2 separate regions of the Homo sapiens genome follow, and region 2 is linked to region 1. The links are contacts of gene promoters, found by promoter capture Hi-C in blood cells and fetal thymus (Javierre and others, 2016). All regions are on one chromosome and are shown on one strand. The core of a region is centred on a gene start or on the middle of the fragment in contact, and the rest is flanking DNA. Distances in the headings are between cores, read along the strand shown. Region 1 holds the start of JAGN1 (jagunal vesicle mediated transporter 1). Region 2 overlaps TATDN2 (TatD DNase domain containing 2).

The links. The method cuts DNA at HindIII sites, captures the fragments that hold promoters and counts their contacts. A CHiCAGO score of 5 or more calls a contact.
Region 2: a contact is called between a fragment that was not itself captured here and the fragment with the promoter of JAGN1 in region 1, in 7 of 17 cell types (naive CD8 T cells, naive B cells, monocytes and 4 more). The highest score is 8.6, in naive CD8 T cells.

The regions. Positions count from the first base shown.
Region 1 is chr3:9,887,068-9,892,291 of GRCh38, forward strand. It overlaps JAGN1 (jagunal vesicle mediated transporter 1), which reads left to right and starts at 3,543. Exons shown (of 2, transcript NM_032492.4): 1 at 3,543-3,744. The coding sequence starts at 3,656. The HindIII fragment of the contact is 18,772 bases long and covers 1-5,224 here.
Region 2 is chr3:10,258,258-10,263,345 of GRCh38, forward strand. It overlaps TATDN2 (TatD DNase domain containing 2), which reads left to right. Exons shown (of 8, transcript NM_014760.4): 3 at 1,880-2,413. Among named protein-coding and RNA genes, the nearest start is that of TATDN2, 12 kb to the left of the region's middle. The HindIII fragment of the contact is 1,770 bases long and covers 2,422-4,191 here.

The DNA.
Region 1 (5,224 bases), core at 2,293-4,792:
CACCATGCTCAGGGTCTCATCATGTTGCCCAGGCTGGCCTCAAACTCCTGAACTCAAGCAATCTTCCCACCTCAGCCTCATGAGTAGCTGGGACTACAGGTACATGCCGCCGCAGCCAGCTTATTGTTTGGCTTTTGAACCATGTAAATGCATTACCTAGTCAACATTTTAAATTAAAAAGATATTCTTAGGCCCAACTTTGGGGAATGATTCATTTGGGTAAGGGTGGGGCCCAGAAATCTGTGTTTTTAACAAGCATCTTGGATGAGTCTATCACAGATGGTTCTAGACCAGGCTTCACAGACAGCAAAAACGATGAGAACTAATGTGGAAGCAGGTGATCCTTGGTGCAGTAAGATGGGTCCCAAAGTGTCACCAGGATTTCCACAGGGCAAAGAAAGACATTCTAGAGAGCCTGGGGGGAGGTGACAAATATTCCTGGCCCATTTCCCCAGAGGTCCCGAACCCTCTTAGTTATCCCTCAGTGGGTCCTGAACCGTCATCCCTTAAACAGGACAGTAACAGATCTGGTAGTAAAAATCCTGCAGCCCTAGGGCCACTTTGGTCTGAGTTCTTATAGTGCAATTGCTGCGTGATCCTGGGCAAGTCACTTCCCCTTTCTGAGCCTTAATTTTCCCTTGTGTAAGATAATGATAACAAAAGTAATTATCTCCAAGGGTATTGGAAAAAGAGAATGAGTTCACGTGTGTGAATATGCCTGGCATAGAGTAGGTACTCAATAAATGTTGCTGATTTCTTTTCTCTCACTCTGTCGCCCAGGCTGGAGTGCAACAGTATGATCTCTGCTCACTGCAACCTCCGTCCCCCAGGTTCAAGCGATTCTCCTGCCTCAGCCTCCCGAGTAGCTGGGACTACAGGCACGTACCACCACGCCTGGCTAATTTTTTGTATTTTTAGTAGAGACGGGGTTTCACCGTGTTAGCCAGGCTGGTCTCGATCTCCTGACCTTGTGATCTGCCCGCCTCAGCCTCCCAAAGTGTTGGGATTACAGGCGTGAGCCACTGCACCCAGCCTTTTTTCTTATTTTTTTAAAATTTGAGACAGGGTCTCACTCTGTTGCTCAGGCTGGAGTGCAGTGGTGTGATCTCAGGTCACTGCAACCTTCGCCTCCCGGGTTCAAGGGATTCTCCTGCCTCGGCTTCCCAAGTAGCTGGGACTACAGGCATGCGCTACCACACCCTGATAATGTTTGTATTTCTTTTGGTAGAGACAGGGTTTCACCATGTTGACCAGGCTAGTCTTGAACTCCTGACCTCAAGTGATCCACTGCCTCGGCCTCCCAAAGTGCTGGGATTACAGGTGTGAGCCGTGCCCGGCCAATGTTGCTGATTTCTTGCTTGCCTTTCTCAGATCCCAGCCACACAGACTCCCTTCCTAGTGTGAGCCCCTTGCTGGTCATATGTGCTCTTGTTACCCACCTACAGATGTTAAATCCCAAGGAACTCAAATCTGTTCCTCTCTGTCCATTGCCACCTCCTAGCCCAAGCCACCCCTAGGATTGCCTGAATTACTGCAGTAGCCTTCAAGTGATTCCTCTGCTTCACCCTTGGCCCCTGCAAGCCATTCTCTACACAGCAACTAGATCTATCTTTATTTATTTATTTACAGACAGTGTCTTACTCTGTTGCCCAGAATGGAATGCAGTGGCATAATCATGGCTCACTGTAACCTTGAACTCCTGGTCTCAAATGATTCTCCCACCTCATCCTCCCGAGTAGCCTGGACTACAGGCACGCACCACCATGCCAGTTAATATTATTTTATTTTTTATTTTTGTAGAGACGGGAGTCTCACTATGTTGCCCAGGCTGATCTCCTGCCTTGGCCTCCCAAAGTGCTGAGATTACAGGCTTGAGGCACTGTGCCCCCACCTAGACCTATCTTTTAAAAATGCAAAACTGTGTCATTTTCCTGGTTAAACCTTTTAGTGGTTCCCCAAACCCCCTGGGATAAAGACTTAACTCTTTACTGAACCCTCCAAATGCTCCAGTCACTCTTAAGTTTCTCAGTTCTTTGAAGAGCCAAGTGCTCTCTGGATTTGGGGCCTTCACACATGCTGTTCCCTCTGCCTGAAAAGCTCTTCCGCTCCCCACCTCTTTAGCCAATTCCCACTCAGGCTTCAGACCTCAGCTCAATTGCTGCCACTCCAGAGAGACTTTCCTAACCCTCCAGGTCAGGGAGAGAGGCCTCATTTTTCCTCCCTCAGCCTCCTGTGTTTTCTTGAATTTCTTAGCTTCATGGGTACAAGTTCTTCCCCCGACTGGGCTGGGATCCCTCAGGGGAAATGGACCATGTTTATTTCTGCGTCCCCAGGTCATAGCAGAGCATCCTGGTGCATGGAAGATGCTCACTATACATGCTTTTTTCTTTCTTTTTTTCTTTATTCGGATAATATAACTTCTTTCTTTAAAGTTTCGCTTAGTATTTTGTTGTGGTAAAATGCACATAACATAAAACTTACTATGTTAATCATTTTTAAGTGTACAGTTTCCGTGGCATTAAGCACACACATATAGTTGTGCAATCAGTACCACCATCCATCTCCAGAACTTTTTTCATCTTCCCGAACTGAAGCTCTGTACCCATTAAACACTAGCTCCCCATTCTCTGTCCACCCCTCGAGCTTCTGGCAATGGTCATTCTACTTTGTCTCTACAGATAAAGTTTATTTGGAAATAATTTTTCTTTCATGGCCTTGACATTTTTGAAGAGTACAGTCCAGCTCTCTTCTAGACTGTCCCTCCGTCTGGATTTATGTCATTTCTTCATGATTAGATTCAGTTAGGTATTTTTGGCAGAAACATCATAGAAGTGATGCTGTGTCCTCAGTCTATTAAAAGAGGCACAAGATATCAGTTTATCTCATTATTGATCAAATTAACTGACTATATGTTTAAGGGAGACAAGCCAGATTTCCTCACTGAGAGATTCCCTGTTTCTCTTTGCAATAATTAAATGTGAGAAACTTATTTTGAGACAAAGTCTCACTCTGCACTCTGTCCCCCAGGCTGGAGTGCATTGGCACAATCTCGACTTACTGCAACCTCTGCCTCCCTGGTTCAAGCGATTCTCCTGCCTCAGCCACCCAAGTAGCTGGGGTCACAGGAACCCACCACACCTGGCTAATTTTTGTATTTTTAGTAGAGACGGGATTTCACCATGTTGCCCAGGCTGGTCTTGAACTCCTGACATCAAGTGATCCACCCACCTCGGCCTCCCAAAGTGCTGGGATTAAAGGTGTGAGGCTGTGTGAATGATGTGTGCTCCAGGGAAAGTCATAGAATATATCAGTTTCCCCCTCTGTAAAGTGTGGACAGAAGTATCCTAACTGATATTACAGCTTAAGAAAGTAAAAGTGTTCAAGCGGCCTCTGGGCGCCAGCAAAAGAGGCTGGGGATTAATTTCCTGCGCGCTCCACAAGAGGCGGGGCTGGGCGGGGCGGGGGCGAGAGGGAACGAGGGCGCCTGCGCGGAGAGGAGTGACCATAGAGTCGGTCCTCCAGAGACAGAGGGGCCGGAAGTTCTCTTCACGGAGCCGCGCGGCTGCGGGGGCGCAAATAGGGTCAGTGGGCCGCTTGGCGGTGTCGTTGCGGTACCAGGTCCGCGTGAGGGGTTCGGGGGTTCTGGGCAGGCACAATGGCGTCTCGAGCAGGCCCGCGAGCGGCCGGCACCGACGGCAGCGACTTTCAGCACCGGGAGCGCGTCGCCATGCACTACCAGATGAGGTATGAAGTGAGGCGAGGAGCACGGAGGCTTTCTCCCCCGCTGGAGCCTGCGGGGCTTGGGGAGCGACGCCGGCCCGGCCTCAGGGTCTTGCTCCCCAGCCAGCCCCCGCTCACCTGCCAAGTCCCCTCCTCCCGTGACGGCTTCGGGCCTGTCCCCCATCCTGGAAAGCCCCGTGGCCCCCGCGAGCTCCACCCCTTGTTCCGCCCGGTGCCTTGAGGGGATCCAGCCCCGCGTGGGCTCCCGCCCTGCGTGGGCTCCCGAGTCACGTCGATGCTGGCCCCGCTGTATCACCTTCGAAACCGAATTTCTAATTTGAGCCTCAGCTTCCTCATCTGTAGAGGGAGAGAATAATCTGCCTTTTAGGTTTTGGTGAAAGATTAATCAGTAATTCGTGTAAAGAAAGTAGCATAAGGCCTACCACGTAATATATGGTAGGTGTTATATTTTGGGCCGTTTGGGGGGATATAGACAGTAAAAGGCAGCCTTTCCTAAGGACGCCTTGCCTAAAATGAATTTTATAAACACTCCCACGTAAGGGGTATTTCTACATTCAATTACTAGTTCGACAAATACTGAGCTTCCAAACATCATACACTGCTAGACACTAGGTTATAATAGTGAGCAAAAGCAGACGTGGTCTTTGTATACATGTTATACCTTCAATAAACAATTTTATTAAAGAAAAAAAAAACTGTTCCCTGCCTTCATGGAGCTTGAAGTCTAGAGATGACTGTTTTTTTTTTCCAACCTTTCCACATTTTCTACAATAAATATTTTTAAATAAAAATTTTAAAATTTTTACTTCCTTAAATCCATTGATCTCTCCCAGAATGTTCTTCACATCTCTCTCTCCAGAGTTTTAAAGAATGACAAGCTCTTTGAACTCTCATTTGTTTCACATCTCTAGGCCCCGGCTGAAAGGGCCCTCACAACTTAAGCAGGTGTTTTCATGCCAGCCCAGAGTAGAAACATTGCCTTTAGGGATATGAGGAGGATACGTTTGGGACGTGAGAGAATTAGAAGAATAAGATAAGTATGTACTTCTTTTGGATGAAAAAATCTAGCTGGAGAAGTATGGGCGGCCTGAGTACGTTTCCTCTCTGCCAATACCTTCTCCCGCCAGACTTTAATCCTATGGTGCAGTCAGCGTCCTCTTGCTAAACACAGCTCTGAGCTACCCTTCTGCCTTTATTATTATTATTAATTTATTTATTTATTTTTGAGACGGAGTCACGGTCTGTCGCCCAGGCTGGAGTGCAGTGGCGCGATCTCAGCTCACTTGTAAGCTCCGCCTCCCGGGTTCACGCCATTCTCAGCCTCAGCCTCCCGAGTAGCTGGGACTACAGGCGCCCGCCACCACGTGCTGCTAATTTTTTTGTATTTTTAGTAGAGACAGGGTTTCACCGTGTCAGCCAGGATGGTCTCGATCTCCTGACCTCGTGATCTGCCCGCCTCGGCCTCCCAAAGTGCTGGGATTAC
Region 2 (5,088 bases), core at 2,057-4,556, 370 kb after region 1:
TAATATAAGCACCTAAGCCTTTGTTTGTTTGTTTGTTTGAGACAGAGTCTCATTCTCTCACCCAGGCTGGAGTGCAGTGGCATGATCTCGGCTTACTGCATCCTCCGCCTCCTGGGTTCAAGTGATTCTCCTGCCTCAGCCTCTTGAGTAGCTGGGACTATAGGCATGTGCCACCACGCCTGGCTAATTTTTGTAATTTTATTTTTATTTTGCTTCTTTTTTTTTTTTTTGAGACAGAGTTTTGCTCTTGTTGCCTGGGCTGGAGGGCAGTGGCACGATCTTGCCTCACTGCAACCTCTGCCTTCCGATTCAAGCGATTCTTTGCCTCAGCCTCCTGAGTAAGTGGGATTACAGGTGCCCGCCACCATGCCTGGCTTAAGTTTTGTATTTTCAGTAGACACAGTGTTTTGCCATGTTGGCCAGGCTGGTCTCGAACTCCTGATGTCAGGTGATCCACTTGCCTCGGCCTCCCAAAGTGCTGGGATTACAGGTGTGAGGCACTGCTCCCAGCCGAGCCTAAGTCTCTTTCTACTTCCCTGCATTCCCCAAAGAGATCCATTATAAACAGTTTAGCTTTTTAGACTTGTTTGCGAATATATACATATAAAGCAATTTTGCCTTTTTTTTTTTGAGATAGGGTCTCACTGTATTGCCTAGGCTGGAGTGCAGTGGTGCCGTCACGGCTCACTGAAACCTCTGCCTCCCAGGTTCAAGCGATTCTTGTGCCTTAGCCTCCCGTGTAGCTGGGATCACAGGCGTGTGCCACCATGGCCCAGCTAATTTTTGTAATTTTTAGTAGAGACAGAGTTTTGACACCTTGCCCAAGCTGGTCTTGAACTCCTGAGCCTAAGTGATCTTCCTGTCTTGGCCTCCCAAAGTGTTGGGATTACAGGCATGAGCCACCGCGCCCCGTGTGTTTTATAGAGATGGGGTTTCGCCATGTTGGCCAGGCTTGTCTCGACCTCCTGGGTTCAAGCAGTCCACCTGCCTCGGCTTCCCAAAGTGCTGGATTACAGGCATGAGCCACTGTACCTGGTCTGTATTTACTTTTGAGAGGAATTTAATAGAAATGACTTAGGAATGCAAATGGGATAATGGTTTACTGCTTATGGAATGGCCTTAGGAGGACATTTGTGGAGAGTTCTTACACCCGGCAGGGATTAGACTGGATTAGAATTTCACATCAAAATAGTCTGGCAAACAAAGTCTAGCTTTTTCTGTGTGGAGTCCTGGAGTGAGTGGGTGCAAGAGGGGGCTGAGGCTTCACTTCCGTCTTGGAGGAGGTTTGTTGTTGGGAGCAGTCTATCTTGACTGACCCTGGTGCAGTCACTGAGAAACTGAGGTATTTTCCAAAACCAAGTTGATTATTTGAGGGGAAGTGTTTGCAGAGAACTTTCAGGAGGCTTTGGGTATGGTGGGAAAAACACTGCACTCAGAACTGGGGGATTGGAGTTCCTGGGGCTAGCCCTTCCCCTCACTGGGTCCTCAGGTTTCCTTTACCCTTAGATATGGGATTGGGCTAGCTGGTTTCTAGGGCCCTTTCCAGTGGGAAGAGCTTGAGCTGCTGTTTTGCCTGAAGTGTAGTCCTTGCCTTCCAGGAGCTTGCAGTCTGGTTTAATGAGAGTGTTCATTTCAGCTCCTTCCGTCCCCTTGCAGTGAAAGGATATCATCTGCTGAGCATGAGAAGGCGAATGCTAAGAAATGGCAGCAATCAGCCCCTCTTACAGTGCCACTTCACCACCCGGAGAGAACCTTTGCCTTAGCCACAGTCACTTTCCCTTTGACTGGTAGAACCACCACTGATTTATAATTTGCCAAATGCTTCATGTACGAAAGTGCCCTTGGAACAGCCCTTTCAATTCTGTTTTTTTTTTCCCAGGTTGATTCCAAAGATAGTTCTCATAACTCCACAAACTCTGAATTTGCAGCTGAAGCTGAGGGTCAGAATGATACAATTGAGGAACCCAACAAGGTCCAGAAAAGGAAGAGGGATAGACTTCGAGACCAGGGCTCCACAATGATCTACCTGAAGGCTATCCAGGGCATCCTGGGGAAATCGATGCCAAAAAGGAAGGGAGAGGCTGCCACTCGGGCAAAACCAAGCGCAGCAGAGCATCCCAGCCATGGAGAAGGACCAGCCAGGAGTGAAGGACCAGCCAAGACTGCAGAAGGAGCAGCCAGGAGTGTCACAGTCACTGCTGCTCAGAAGGAGAAAGACGCAACCCCAGAGGTCAGCATGGAGGAGGATAAGACAGTGCCAGAGAGGAGCAGCTTCTATGACAGGAGAGTAGTTATAGACCCTCAAGAGAAACCCAGTGAGGAGCCCCTTGGGGACCGAAGGACTGTCATTGACAAATGCTCTCCACCCCTAGAGTTCTTGGATGACTCTGACTCTCATTTAGAAATCCAAAAGGTGAGTAAAGCTTGTACCAGGCATCTGACTTTTTAGTTCTGTTGATGAAATGTGTTCCATCTTTCTAGTTTGATCCTAAGTGTTACTAATTAAAAATAGTACTTTACTTAACCAGGCCTCCAGGGAACAAACTGATGGTTTTCTTCTAACATACTTTTCAGATTTTCAGAGTTATTAATAAACCTAAACTAAGTGCTTTTTTTTTTTTTTGAAGGATTTATATGTTAGGATATGGGTTTAGCTGCTGTGTAAAAGGCCAAAATCACAGTGGCTTAAACAGAATATAAGTTTGGCTTAAGAAGGATGGCTCCATCATGTCAGAGATACTGGTACCTTTTGTCTTGATTCTCTATCACCCCTCAACACAGTGTCCATCTCTTGGTGTGAAATGGATACTCTGATAGGACTCAGGGTTTGTTATCTGGGCATTCTGGCCAGTGGGAAGGGGAGAAGAGGAGAGTGCATTCCTTCCCTGTTAAGAGCTTGGCTCAAGAGTTGCACATGTTGTATCTGCTGTTGACAAGAGCGGGGAAACCCGGCTGACACCTGGCTGCAAGGGAGTCTGGAAAATCAGCCTTTATCTAGGCAGACTTGTACCTGGATAACCAGAGAAGAAGGGAAGGATGTCATTGGACGGAAACTAGTGATTTTTAACATAGCTTATAATTGAGGGGAAGCATTCCTCCATCTTTTTCTTTTTTTTTTTTTTTTTGTTGTTGGGACAGAGTCTTGCTCTGTTGCCCAGGCTGGAGTGCGATGGTGCAATCTTGGCTCACTGCAACCTCCACCTCCTGGGTTCAAGCAATTCTCCTGCCTCAGCCTCCTGAGTAGCTGGGATTACAGGTGTGCGCCACCAAACCGGCTAATTTTTGTATTTTTAGTAGATATGGGATTTCTCCATGTTGGCCAGGCTGGTCTCGAACTCCTGACCTCGTGATCCACCTGCCTTGGCCTCCCAAAGTGCCGGGATTACAGGCATGAGCCACTGTGCCAGGCCACATTCCTCCATCTTACTCGTCTCCACCCATCCTTTACTACTGCTCTGCAGGCAGCTTCTCTCATCTTTAGCTCTTTCTTCTAGTACTTACCCCATGTTTCTAAATAATCTTTACTGTTGATCAGTTTTTCAGTTTTAGATGTCTGAGGACTTCTTGCTTGGGCGATGAGAATTTAGTTCTCTATACCTCCTTCAGAAGCACCCACACCCAGGGACACATTAGCTTCCCCTTTCTGCAGCCTCCCTGTGTGGCTTGAATACCTTTTGGGTTAAGTCTGTGTAAGATTTGTTACTGCCATGTTCACAGCTGAGTCGCCTTGTATACTCTGATCACATTTTCTTTCTTGTAAAACTTCATTTTCCTTAAAGTTCATCATTACTTTGTTTTTCCTTTGGTTTTCCTGGTACCTTTCACTAATTAATCCCCAAACTGCGAGAGCTGTAAAATCCTTCTCAATACTGTCAAAATAAGGAATCTGTTTCTTTTTTTTCTCTCTTGGAGGTATACGTCCTCAGCCCTCTGTTGTCCTGCTCTGGTCTGGACTGCCTGCCGTCAGGCCAGCTGGCAGCTGTCTCTCTGGAGCCTCCTTCACATTTCTCCCGGATTGAGTCTTCTGCTACCTATACTCTGTGTCTTCTCATGTTCTTCTTCCTTGGTTTACTCTCACATTTTGGTGGAATACTTTTTCTAGTAGCTTCTTGAGAAAGGGTACATGGAGAAACTTTTTTTGGTAAACATGTGTCTGAGATTGCCTTTATTTTACCTTTAACCTTGATTACAAGCTTGGTTGGTTTTGGAATTCCAGGTTGGAAATTGTTTTGTTTGGGATTTTGAAGGCATTGCTCCTTTTCTTCTGGGCTTTTTTTTTTTTTTTTTTTTTTTTGAGGTGGAGTCTCGTTCTGTCTTGCCCAGGCTGGAGTGCACTGGTGTGATCTTGGCTCACTGCAGCCTCCACTTCCTGGGTTCAAGTGATTCTCCTGTCTCAGCCTCCCGAGTAGCTGGGATTACAGGCACACGCCACCACACCTGGCTAATTTTGTATTTTTGGTAGAGACAGAGTTTCATCATGTTGGCCAGGCTGGTCTCAAACTTCTGACCTGAGGTGATCCACCTGCCTAGGCTTCCCAAAGTACTGAGATTACAGGTGTAAGCCACTTCGCCTGGCCTCTTCTGGTTTTCTTGATGTCTGAAGCTATGCTGGTTCCTGAACCTTGGTATATGATTTTTTATTTTTTATTTTCTTTTGCTTTGAGACAGAGTTTTGCTCTGTCACCCAGGTTGGAGTCCAGTGGCGTGATCTCAGCTCACTGCAATCTTCACCTCCCAGGTTCAAGCGATTCTCCTGCCTCAGCCTTGTGAGTAGCTGGGATTACAGGCATGTGCCACCACACCCGGCTAATTTTTGTATTTTTAGTAGAGATGGGGTTTCACCATTTTGGTGAGGCTGGTGTCGAACTCCTGACCTCATGATCCGCCCGGCTCAGCCTCCCAAAGTGCTGGGATTACAGGTGTGAGCCACCGTGCCCAACCTGTATTTTTTTTTTTTTTCCCTCTGTGGAATCTTGTAGAATATATTTTGATCTCAGGGCTCTGAAATTTCATGGTGGTGGTGTCTACTTTGCTTAGCATGGGACATTCCCTTTCAATCTAGAAACCCTTGTACTTTAGCTGTGGGAA